2 separate regions of the Homo sapiens genome follow, and region 1 is linked to region 2. The links are contacts of gene promoters, found by promoter capture Hi-C in blood cells and fetal thymus (Javierre and others, 2016). All regions are on one chromosome and are shown on one strand. Each heading gives the region's core, a stretch centred on a gene start or on the middle of the fragment in contact. The rest is flanking DNA. Distances are from core to core; before and after follow the strand shown. Region 1 has its middle 51 kb from the start of CARTPT. Region 2 holds the start of BDP1 (BDP1 general transcription factor IIIB subunit).

Region 1 (7,087 bases), core at 4,253-6,752, 310 kb before region 2:
GGACTCACACACTGCTTTCCACAATTTGAACTAATTTACACTCCCACCAACAGTGTATACGCGTCCCCTTTTCTCTGCAACCTTGCCAGCATCTGTTATTTTTTTGACTTTTTAATAATAGCCATTCTGACTGGTGTGAGATGGTGTCTCATTGTGGTTTTGATTTGCATTTCTCCAATGATCAGTGATGTTGAGCTTTTTCTCATATGCTTGTTGGCCGCATGTATGTCTTCTTTTGAAAAATGTCTGTTCATGTCCTTTACCTACTTTTTAATGGGGTTGTTTGTTTGTTGTAAATTTGTTTAAGTTCTTTGTAGATGCGGGATATTAGACTTTTGCCAGAGGCATAGTTTGCAGATATTTTCTCCCATTCTGTAGGTCATTTACTCTGTTGACAGTTTCTTTTGCTGTACAGAAGCTCTAAGTTTAATTAGATCCCATTTGTCATTTTTTGCTTTTGTTGCAATTGCTTTTGGCATTTTGTCATGGCTTCCCTTCACCTTCCATCATGATCGTAAGCTTCCTGAGCACCTCAGCAGAAACGGATGCCAGCACTAGCTTCATGTACAGCCTGCAGAACTTCAAGCCAAACAAACCTCTTTTCTTTATAAATTACCCAATCTCAAGTATTACTGTACAGCAATGCAAAATAGACTAGCACAATATAAACGCAAAAATACTCAAGAAAATGCTAACAAACTGACTCCAGCAACACACAAAAAGATTATACACCATGACCAAGTGGAGTTTATCACAAGAATGCAACATTGGTTTAACATCTGATAAACAATCAATGTAATACACAATATTAATAGAATAAAGAACAAACCCCATATGATTACCTCGATAGATACAGAAGACAAAATTGATGAAATCCAACACCCTTTCATGATAAAAGCATTCAACAAAGTAGAAATAGAAGGGAACTTTCTCAGTCCAATAAAGAGCATCTTTTAAAAAATCTACAGTTAACATAATACTTAATAGGGAAAGACTGAATGCTTTCCCCCTACCATTAAAAACAGGAAAAATATTCACTTTTACCACCCTATTCAATGTTGTACTGAACACAAATTTGCCTGGGCAAGAGAAATAGATAATATCCAATTGTAAGGAAGAAGTAGAACCATCTCTGCTCAGAGATAACATGATCTTGTATATAGAAAATCCTAAGGAATGCAAAAAAACTATAAAAATTAATTAAAGTGTTCAGCAAGTTTCACAACACAAGATCAATATACAAAAAGCAGCTATATTTCTATACACTAGCAATGAACAACATGAAACTGCAATTAAGAAAACAGTTTTAGTTACAATAGCATCAAAAAGAATAAAATACTTAGGAATAAATTTAACAAAAGAAGTGCAAGACTTGTATACTGAAATTTAAGTTCTAAATAAATAGAAAGACATCCCCTGTTTATGGATTGGAAGGCTTAATATTGTTAAGATGGCAGTACTTCCCAAATTGTTCTACAGATTCAATGTAATCTCTATAAAAATTCACCTGGTTTCTTTGCAGACATTGGCAAGCTGATCCTAAAATTTATATACAGCTGCATGGGACCCAGAATAGCAAAAAAAAAAAAAAAAAATCTTTAAAAAGAAGAACAAAATTGAGAGGATTCACACTTCCCACTTACAACACTTACTACTAAGCAACAGTAATGAAGTATGGTACAGTCATAAAGATAGACAAACAGATCAATAGAATTAATTGAGAGTCCAGAAATAAGCCTGGATGCCTATCATCAACTGATTTTCGACAAGGGTGACAAGACACTTGAATATGGACAGAATAGTTTTTTTTAAATAAATGGTGCTGGGACGACAGAATATCTACATGCCAAAAATAAAGTTTGACCTCTACTTCACACCATATATAAAAGTTAACTCAGAAACAGTGACATGTACCTGTAGTCCTGCTACTCAGGAGGCTGAGAGGCAGGAGGATCCCTGATCTCAAGCTCAGGAGCTTGAGACCAGCCTGGGCAACATAGCAAGACCCCATCTCAAAAAGACAAAAATGAACTCAGGATCATAGGCCTACATGTAAAAGCTAAAACTGTAAAATTCTTAGAAGAAAGAATTTTACAGGACTAAATCTTCCTGGATTAGGCAGTAGTTTCTTAGATAAAACACAAAGCATGAAAAGAAAAAAATAGATAAATTGGACTTACATCAAAATTTAAAATTTCTGTGTTTCAAATGATACTGTCAAGAAAATGAAAAGAGAACCCACAGAATGGGAGAAAATATTTGCAAATCATGTAGCTGCCAAGGGACTTCTATACAGAGCAAAGGACTCTTACAACTCAACAATAAGAAGAAGACAAAGAGCTCAACTATTTTAAATGGGCAAAGAATTTGAAAAGACAATTATTTGGAGAAGAAATACAAATAACCAAAAGAACATTTTAAATGTTCAACGGCATGTCATTGGGATAAAGAAAATCAAAACCATTTCATACCCATCAGGATAACCACAATTAAAAAAACAGAAAATAGCAAGTGTTGGCAAGGATATGAAGACATTTTAACCCTCATACTTTCTTTGTGGTATTACAAAATGGCACAGCTGATTTGGAAAACAATGTGATGGTTTCCAAAAAATGTTAAACATGGAGCTAACATGATCCAGCAATTTCACTCCTAGGTATATACAAAAAAAAATTTAAAACATGTGTCCACACAAAAACTTGTCCGCAAATGTTCATAGCAGCCATATTCAAAATAGACAAAAAATGGAAACAATTTAAATGTCAATCAACTGATGAATGGATAAACAAAATGTAATATGCCACTATAAGAGAATATTATTTGTCTATAAAAGGAATGAAATGGTTGGGCGCGGTGGCTCACGCCTGTAATTCCAGCACTTTAGGAGGCCACAGCAGGCGGATCAAGAGGTCAGGAGTTCGAGACCAGCCTGACCAACATGCTGAAACCCCATCTCTACTAAAAATACAAAAAAAAATTAGCCAAGTGAGGTGGCGGGCACCTGTAATCCCAGCTACTCAGGAGGCTAAGGCAGGAGAATCGCTTGAACCCGGGAGACAGAGGTTGCAGTGACCAGAGATCGAGCCACTGCACTCCGGCCTGGGCGACAGAGGGAGACTCCGTCTCAAAAAAAAAAAAAAAAAATGGGAATGAAATAGTGACACATGCTACCACATGAATAAACCTTGAAAACATTATGCTAAGTCAAAGAAGCTAGACACAAAAGGCAACATATTGTAGGATCATTTATATGAAGTTTCAGAATAGGCAAATCCATACACACAGAAGTAGATGCCCAGGTCTGGATGGGTGGAAGGGCAGAGAATGAAGAATGACTGCTAATGGGTGCAGGATTTCTCTTTGGGGTGATGAAACTGTTCTGTAATTAGATAGTGGTGATGTTTGCAGGTTGCACCATTCCAAGTATAGTAAAAATCACCAAACTGCACACATATAAAGGCTGGATTATATGGTATATAAATGATCAAGTAGAGAACAATTAATATACAGTAATTTTTAAGCAGATACACATCATAGATAGAAAATCATAGATAGAAAATCACAGGTAGAAAATGATGTGCAAAGGAATTTGACATCACTTCTGTCCCTGGGTCATGTATTCATCTTTCTCAATTTAAAAAAATACTGAAGTCATTTCATTCAAGATAAATTATCTTTATTATCTACTCTATCAGATTTCTTTCAAACTGAAAAAACAATACATGCTTGTATTGCCGCTTATTTTCCAAGAAAAAAAAATCCTGAGTATCAAAGAAAAACCCAACATTTGCCTTTCCCGTGACTCTCACTCCTGCTATTATCCCTTCCTGAAAACAAGAAATGTTAATTTAGTGTCCACATTTTTCTACATTCATATGAATGCACACAACTGAAAATATTCACACCAATAAAAGGCTTTTCTGATTTTACAAAAAATACAATCATTTATATACATTTCTCTGCAATGTACTTTGCTGGTGGCCTTTCCTATCGGTCATTGCATATAAATCGAACTCCTTATTAGTAGCTATGTAATATTCTAGAAATCTGGACATGCCACAGTTTATTCAATCACTCCCTATTGATGGCATTCAAGTTGTTTTACTTCGCTTTGTCACATTCAATGTGTATCTTTATACATATCCTTATAAGCTAATTCTTTTATTTTTGTAGGATAAAATCCTCCAATATAAGTTTTAAAGACTCAGAAAATCATTACTCGGCTTGGCAATAAAAAAGTTCATTATGTTTCATTAAGCATCCTGCTTGGTGGAATCAGGGGAAAATGTATTTATTTCTCAGCACTGAATCATTACCCTCTGTACAGATTACTTTTGTTTGCAAATACATAAACAAAATACAAATTGCCTATGTTCACCAAACAAAGCTTTAAATTCTAGCTGCACCAGGGAGCAAAGGAGGTATGGTGAGAGACACATTTCCTGGTACAGGAAATGAGCAGCAGGGTGAGGAAGCAGCTTGAGGAAGCACTGCTGGACCAAGCTTCACCTTTGCCTGCAAAATCCCCCTGAAAATAAACACTCCACAGGGGTCCTGAGTGCAGGGTTACAGTTAGGTTTGGGATTAGGCTTAGGTGAGAACCACAAGTCCTTTCAGACCATGCTTGCCCTTATTTAGCTCTCCAGTTTGCTTCTCTTGGTTGGCTGGAGCAGTTTTTTCAAGAAGGTAGCGTGGATGGTGTGATTCCTGCGCCCATACACATCTAAGAATAACTTTCTATTGCCATCACACACAAAAGACAACTTTGCTTATTTTAAACTTTACTTGTCTCCCTCCAAATTCTGTAGATACTGAAGTTTTTTAAGCCTTCTAGCATATAGTGATTGTGAAGATAACACAACTTTTGTTTATTTGCTGGTGTCATTAGAAGGTATTTAAAAATACTCCCATTCCAGCAGGTGTAGCTAAAAAGAGAAAAGAAAAAAAGAAGGTATTTTCAAACCTCCATAATTGTGTGCTCTGCTCCCTGCATTTTTCCCAGGAGTATGTGTAAAGGGGTGTCCGTGTGTGTGTGTGTGTAGAATATAAATAAAGTAAATTAATAAATAAACTCTCTGGCCGGGCGCAGTGGCTCACACTGTAATCCCAGCACTTTGGGAGGCCAAGGCAGGTGGATCATCTGAGGTCAAGAGTTTGAGACTACCCTGGCCAACATGGTGAAACCCTGTCTCTACCAAAAATACAAAAATTAACCAGGCGCAGTGGCATACGCCTGTAATTCCAGCTACTTGGGAGGCTGAAGCATGAGAATTGCTTGAACCTGGGAGGCAGAGGTTGCAGTGAGCCAAGATCATGCCACTGCACTCCAGCCTGGGCAACAGAGCAAGAGTGTCTCAAAAAAAAAAAAAAAAAAAAACTATCATTAAAATGGCCAACAGCTAAACCGTCTGGTCTAATGCACTCACAGCTTATCTAAACTAATAAAATAAGGAAGGAAGGTCATATGAAATATGCCCACAGCAACATGATTATATCAGTAATTGTGAGTCTTGAAGAGCCAAACAGAAAGGCCACAGAAAATTAGCCTGATGTGATAATTTAGAGATCTGATTTTGCTATTCTCTTACTTTATGTTATTCAATGCCACCAGAAGCAGCCATCCTACCCTGTTGTTCCAGAATGTTTAAATTATTTTTTGCCATCAGCTACTCAGTTTTTCAGAGCACCACCTTCTGGCGCACATAGAGGGAACGTAACAGTTGTTTTACACTGTTGGGATACTAACCCGCAATATGAAAGCGAATTTTCCCCCTTTTCCCCATTCTGGCCAGTTTCCCCGCTCCTCAAAAATCTACCTTTCTCTTAGGGTATCTTGCCAACTGGAGCAAAAGTGGAAGTTATAAGCAGAATATAGGGGAACTTAGAACCTAGAAAAGGTAACCCAACAGGTTTGAAAAAGAAACAAGGGCCAATCCTAGAATTTGTAAGAAGTGATAAAAGACATTATGGCATTGCAACTAGGATGAATGAGCAGATACAACTATATTCTGTCATTTTATTGCTCTGCTAAAGTTTCAGTTCCAGAGAGACACTCCTGTCAGTCTCAGGTTGCATTCCCATTTCTTGGCAGGAAAGGACAAAATATCTTGACTTATGGTTCCATTGTAATGACTCAAGTAGAGAGGAGTCAGTTTCCCAAAATAGCATCAGAGTGCTTTTAGGAGAAAAAACTACTCAATAATTCCTGCAATTGACAGATAAATTATCTTTTCTAAATAGATTTATAGGACTTTTTAAAAATCTGTATAATTCAAAATTTTTCTTTGAATATATGTAGATGTGGATCTCTTCTGTTTTCATCTGAAATGCAGTGAACCCCTGCAGCCTGCAAACTTAGGTTTTATTTCATCTTTTATGATTGCTTCTATTCCATGTGTTATGCTGTCTTCCCTAGAAACACAAAGTAATCAAATGTTAGAGGTTTCATTTTCTCTCTTTCCTTCTGCTTGTGCATTTTTTTCTGCATCCTAGAAAAGCTTCTCAAATTTGTTCAGTACATAACTGATTCTGATTTACAGTTAGGTACTGATCATGTTATTGTGCTCTTGGTTTACTTGAAAGCCTTCCATATCTCAACATGCTGTCTTCTTTCAGCCTGTTGTCTCATCATGGTGTTATGTTCCTGTTTCACAACACAATGCCTCATTGAATTCTATTATTGCAGATTCTAAACAATCTCCTGTAATTTTCTTCTTGTTCCTATAGGCTCTTCAGAGATAGAATCTTTCTATGAGGTTCCAGAGTACTGTCCTTTATCCATTGTTCTGCAGTATTTTTTTACTGGGCTCATGTGTTGCTGATGTTTACTCGTTCTCAAATGAGGCAAAATCTATCCATACTCCTTGAAAGCTAACAGGCAGGTGGTATTTGCAATTGACCCCATTCTCTCTCTACTTCAGTATGAATCAAAGAATCCACTCAGGTCTTTAAGGGATAGACCAATGTGTCCTGTTCACAGTTTATTTCCCAGATAGTCATCTTGAGAAATGACCTATTGGTGAAGTAGCATCTTTCCCTACCTCCATGGTCCAGTTCTTCATGATAAGCTTCACTGTGACTTAAAATC
Region 2 (6,324 bases), core at 1,413-3,912:
CCCCTCAAAACAAATAACCAACTTACAGAACAAAGCTTAGTCAACCTAATTTGAATTACTAAGTAACAAAGTAATAATTTATAATTAATTTCTATATAAAATTTAAAAAAATTTTAATTCACTCTGACATTTTAAACTGGTCTAAACTACCGGCATTTTACTTTACTTATCAACCCGAGGTCAGTCAAATCAAATATGCAAAACTCCAAACCTCTGAAATATCTGTATTGCAGTATTTGAAGAAAAACATTTAGTTACAGTAGCCAAACCCAATTCCCTTTGAGGCAGAAATCATTTATCTTTTGTCAGGTACAACTCTACTTATACAGCCATCAGAATAAACTTCAGTCAAAAAAAGTACTCAGTCACCCCAAATTGCATATTAGGTATGGTATACCTCAGATATAAGTATTTCAGGAATGGTCTATAAATGCAACTTAAGTCAAGAAAAGAGGTGGTATAAGTCAATAATTAAAAACAGTCTACTTTTTTCCTATTTTATAATTACTTATAAAAAATTAGAAAATGCCTTAACTTATAGAATAACCTTTCCAGGAAGACTTCAATTTAAATTCGTATCTTAGCTGTTATGGATACATGCATTATCTGCATTTCACCCAATTATGTTGAATGCATAATGACAGAATATATATCCTATAGAGTTTTACAACTAGCAAAGACCCACAAAAAAATAAAAAGAGGCTGGGCACGGTGGCTCACACCTGTAACCCCAGCACTTTGGGCTGAGGCAGGTGGATCACTTGAGGTCAGGAGTTCGAGTCCAGCCTGGCCAACATGGTGAAACCCTGTCTCTACTGAAAATACAAAAATTAGTTGGGCGTGGTGGGGCACGCCTGTAGTCCCAGATACTTGGGAGCCTGAGACAGGAGAATTGCAAGAACCCGGGAGGTGGAGGTTGCAGTGAGCCGTACCACTGCACTTCAGCCTGGGCGACAGAGCAAGACTCCATCTAAAAAAAAAACTAATTAAAAAAAAAAAAAAAAACCACTTTCCCAGAGTCAGTAATGGCAAAAAAAGTGACTAAAAAACAAATTATATTCCCCAAACGTAAATGTCAACTCAAAAAAAAAAATTAAATATCCTTGACCATAAATATCTCAAAACTACAATCTTTGGGCAATTTATTAAATTATCAACCATCACGCACTCACACATAATTAACGAAATCTCTGAGAACTTTATTAATGTAACAGCGACTAGTATCGGTATCTCCTTTCTGTGTAGAAATTTTGAAACAGATTCATGTAATAAACTTGGAAATTACTAACCATCACTGAACTATCAACGTAACACCATACACTCAGCACCAGTTCAGGCCAATAGAGGAAGATGTTCCAAAAATAAATAAATGTTTCACCTTCCTATCACAGCATAAACAGAATTTGTACTATCTCACTTCACTTAACAAGGCTGTTTACTGATTTCCTCATATATATAGAAACAGAGACCATCTTAGCCTAACATGTCTTAAATTTACTCCATCACCTTTCTAAAAAACTAGTAACTTTTTGCGGGCAACTATTCTGCTATATCCCCTGCAAGGTAGTTAATATGAATTATCTCCAATCTGCACCAAAACGCTCCAAGTAGGCAATATTATTCCCATTTTGCAGATGAGCAAATTCTGCCTGAGAAAAGTTTACCTGTAGACTAAAAGAGTCCTGAATCCAAATATGATACATGACGCTAAAGCCATGCTTCTCTATTCAGGAAACACGGTCACCATAGTTAAAGAGGCACACTTCAATTAAGTGACCAGAACTCTTACTCACTGACATAAATCGGTAAAGCCAAAGCAATACTTATCTTCTCCTTTAAAAAATAAATATTTTATAAATTGAAAGACAAAAACACTTCCCTGCAAAGCACTCCAGAAGGATGAAAACTATAGTGACCTAAATTCTCAAATGAATAGTGTGGATATTCTTCACTTCAGGACTGCCATACCCCGATTCTCCCTACCACCACTTGAAGACATGGTCTCCTCTCGGAGAATCTATAGACCGTGACAAAATCCACACAAGCCACACCCTGCAGGTCAGACAACTAAACTGCAGTTTGGAGTGGTTTCATCAAGCCTCAACTGAAAGGCTTACTGCAAACGAGAGCGGACTCCTGTGATAAAATTCATTTGCTCAGCTTCCAGGTGACATGCCCGGAGAGGCGGGACAAATGAAAATTCTTCCCTCTGCAACCTCTTACCTGCTCCTAGGAGCCTTTTCTTGGGGCTCCGCTCCACCGAAATCGACTGTGGGCACATCTGTGGGCTCCGCGGGCTTGGAAGCAGAGTCCGTGGCAGGATCCGGCGGCCTGGGAGACTCCCGTCCACGCTGGGGATTGGAAGCTGTGGAGCCCCTGGCGCCTACACCAGGCCTGACATTCGGCTTCACGCTAAGGCGTGCCCTGCGGAACATGGCGGAGGCAGGGGGCCCGGGGAGGCAGCCTCACGGCCGCTCACAGCCCCGAGCCCCGGCGGCTGCCCGGAAAGGGGATTAGGAACTACGCCCTCCCCACAAAGCCACACCACCAGCTCAGGGGGCAGCTACCGTAGTTTCACTGCCCCGCCGCCGCCTCCTCCTCTCTCCCGCCGCCGCCGCTTTTTCATGACCCTGCCACACACCGATGGCTAAATTTCACCCTCCTCCCAGCATCCCCGCGCTCACAGGACGCCGCAACTGATTGCGCCATCAGCCAGCGCCGCAGAATGACGTCAGACGCACAGCACTGGGAGCCATGGTAACTACCAAGCTACTGAGACTGGGTTACCTGCGGACCAGAAATTGAGATGCAGAGATATTTGCTCTTTCTTCTCCAGGAGTCCTTAGGAGTAGTTGAAAAGAGGAACAGAAGAAAGTCCACTTCTCTGCTCAAACCTTTACTGGAACTATTAAAATCGCTGGCCGATTTTGTCTTTTGAAGATCCTGAAGGGTTTAGAAATTCTAAATTGAGTAGACATAGATTAAAAATGCTGGTGTGAAGAAACTGATAATAGTTACCTCCCAGGAGAGGAATGTGTTTCTGGAAAACACGTCGTGGTAGGAAGACCATTTACCGTACGCCTTTGTGTACTTTTTTGTTTTTGTCCTTTGAGACAGGGTCTTGCTCTGTCGCCTAGGCTGGAGTGTGCAGTTGCGCGATCTTGGCTCACTGCAGCCTCCACCTCTCGGGCTCAGGCGATCCTCCCGTCACAGCCTCCCAAGTTGCTGGGACCACAGGCACGCGCCACGACACCCGGCTAATTTTTTTTTTCTCGTATATTTAGTAGAGACGGGGTTCATCATGTTGCTTAGGCTGATCTTGAACTCCTAGGCTCAAGCGAGCCACCCATTTGGCCTCCCAAAGTGCTGGGATTACAGACGTGAGCCACCACGCCCAACCTCCTTGTGTACTTTTTAATATGAATGTATCACCCGAGATCGTACCACTACACTCCAGCCTGTTTAAAAATTATTATAGTTGAAACCTTGTAAATTATTGTGAGTGTTCTTAATCTGCTTCAGGAGGTAGCAGTAAACAAGACGTTCTGGATTTGGGAGGAGAAAATACAAAAAAGAAATGAACAAGATATTTTTAAAATGTATCAGGCCCGGCGTGGGTGCCTCATGCCTGTAATCCCAGCATTTTAGGAGGCTAAGGCAAGGCAGATTGCTTGAGGTCAGGAGTTCGAGACCAGCCTGGCCAACATGGTTAAACTCCATCTCTACTAAAAATACAAAAATGAGCCAGGCCTGGTGGTGCAAGCCTGTAATCCCAGCTATGGGAGGCTGAGACAGGAGAATGGCTTGAACCCTGGAGGTGGAGGCTGCCGGGAGCCAAGATGGCACCACTGCACTCTAGCCTAGGCAACAGAATGAGTGAGACTCTGTCTTAAAATAAATGAATTAATTAATTAATTGCAATAAAATAAAGTATATCAAATGTCATGAAATAAATTTAAGGGTTGAATGCCGGGTATGGCGAGGCACGCCTATAATCCCAGCTACTGTGGAGACTGAAGTGGGAGGATCTCTTGAGCCCAAGACTTCCAGACCAACCTGCTCAAAATATTGAGACCCCTAAAACAAATTACCTACATGCGGTGGCTGTGATGGCTCCCACCTCTAGCTCCAGCTACCTGGAAGGCTGAGGCAGGAGGTCCAGGCTGCAGTGAGCTATGATAGTGCCACTGCCCTCCAGCATGGGTGACAAAGTGAAACCTTGTCCTTAAAACAAAAATTTAATAATAAGAAGAAAAAAAAGAGAGAAATGTACAGGATGATGTGATAGAAAGTAATGGGAGGGAGGCTGGCAGTAGAGTGGCTAGGGAAGTCCTCTATGATGAGAGGAAAAATAGCCAGAGCTGAGGTTGGCCTTGGAGGTATTGGGCCAATGTTTGAACCAGTGATACAAATCCCCTGACTCATGGGAACACAAAGGCCTGACTTTCTTCTTAGAAGGAAAAGAAAATCCTACAAGAATATGGTGATACATTAATAACAAAAGGTCAAAGGAATAAAATTCTGAACTGACTGAAGAAATTGATCACCTAAAGGGAGAACAAAAAAGAGGCAAGTGCTTTTGAGAGTAGGAAGGCAAGACTGAAAGCAGAGAAGAGAAAACATATATCTCTAAGACTATGAAGAAAATGAAGGTCTGGAGGCCAGGCACAGCTCGTGCCTGTAATCCCAGCACTTTGGGAGGTTGAGGCAGGCGAATCACTTGAGCCTAGGAGTTTAAGACCAGCCTAGCCAACATGGTGAAACCTCATCTCTACCAAAATTACAAAAATTAGCTGAGCATGGTGGCTTCTGCCTGTAATCCCAGCTACTCAGGAGGCTGAGGTTGGAGGATTGCTTGAGCCCAGGAGGCGGAAGTTGCAGTGAGCCAAGATCACACCACAGCACTACAGCCTGGGTGACAAAGTGAGACCCTGTCTCAAAAAAAAAAAAAAAAAGAGAGAGAGAAAGAAAGGAAGGAAGGAAGGAAGAGAAAAGAGGAGGTCTGTGGATTCCGTGGGCTCCCTGCAATACTCTGGAAAAGGAACAGTATCTCAGTTTTATCTTCTTTATTTAAAGAAGCTCAAGAATTCGAGAGAATACCCTGCTAAAGATGTCTCAGGAATCTTGGAGCCACTGCCAGGTCTACACAGCTTTGAACAGCATATTCTGATACCAACTGAAGACACAGGGCCTTTCCCCAGATGGTCTTCTGTTCCACTTAAGAGACTAGGGCATTGTCCCAAGTTTTTACAGGTCAGAAAGTAAATAGTGACTAAGATTTAATTTCCCACCAGTAAAGGGATGGGAACAGAATCAGATTAAATTTTATTATTAAATATAAAGTCATAAGACATTTGTTACACAAGTTTGTGGAGTAAATTCTTAGTGGCATCATACGAATTTTTTAAATCTCTACTTTTCTCTGAGAGACACACACAACACATTTTGTGTACATGGGGTATATCATGTGTAGCCCTACAACTTAAGAACTGCAAAATTTCAGCTGCAAAGAAAAATGTTCAATTAGATTAAATTGAGAGCACGTACAAAAACAACTCTGCTACTCACCGGCCGGGCGCGGTGGCTTGCGCCAGTAATCCCAGCACTTTGGGAGGCCGAGACAGGCGGATCATGAAGTCAGGAGATCGAGACCATCCTGGCTAACACGGTGAAACCTCATCTCTACGAAAAAAAATACAAAAAACTAGCTGGGCGTGGTGGCGGGTACCTGTAGTCCCAGCTACTTGGGAGGCTGAGGCAGGAGAATGGCGTGAACCCAGGAGGCAGAGCTTGCAGTGAGCTGAGATCGCACCACTGCACTCCAGCCTGGACGACATAGGGAGACTCCGTCTAAAAAACAAAACAAAACAAACAAAAAAACTCTACCACTTACCTTCCAATCCCACCCCATTCCCTCTTTAGATGACCTTATCTCTATAAAGAACTGTGCCAGAGGTTGGAATGGTTGAAATCTCATGCTTGAAATCCCAGCACTTTGGGAGGCCGAGGCAGACAGATCACACGAGGCCAGGAGTTCAAGATCAGCCAGGCCAACAAGGCAAAAAACCGTCTCTACGAAAAATACAAAAATTAGCCGGGGCAGGGTGGCAGCCGCCTGTAATCCCAGCTACTGGGAGACTGAGGCACAAGAATCGCTTGAACCTGGGAGGCTGAGGCTGCAGTGTGCGGAGATTGCGCCAGTGTACTCCAGTCTGGGCAACAGAGTTAGATACTGTCTCCAAAACAAAACACGGTGCCAGAAAGTCAATCTTTTCCCTTCAAGTTACTTCACTAAGTGGAAGCAGAGGCTAGCAGTATTAAGGA

The links. The method cuts DNA at HindIII sites, captures the fragments that hold promoters and counts their contacts. A CHiCAGO score of 5 or more calls a contact.
Region 1: a fragment that was not itself captured here is called in contact with the fragment with the promoter of BDP1 in region 2 in 1 of 17 cell types (endothelial precursors); the score reaches 12.0 in endothelial precursors.

What each region holds. Positions count from the first base shown.
Region 1 is chr5:71,766,877-71,773,963 of GRCh38, reverse strand. No RefSeq gene overlaps it. Among named protein-coding and RNA genes, the nearest start is that of CARTPT, 51 kb to the right of the region's middle. The HindIII fragment of the contact is 1,994 bases long and covers 4,506-6,499 here.
Region 2 is chr5:71,451,989-71,458,312 of GRCh38, reverse strand. BDP1 (BDP1 general transcription factor IIIB subunit) reads right to left here and starts at 2,662. Exons shown (of 39, transcript NM_018429.3): 1 at 2,224-2,662. The coding sequence starts at 2,435. RefSeq lists enhancers at 1,875-2,800, 2,801-3,727. The HindIII fragment of the contact is 8,261 bases long and covers 38-6,324 here.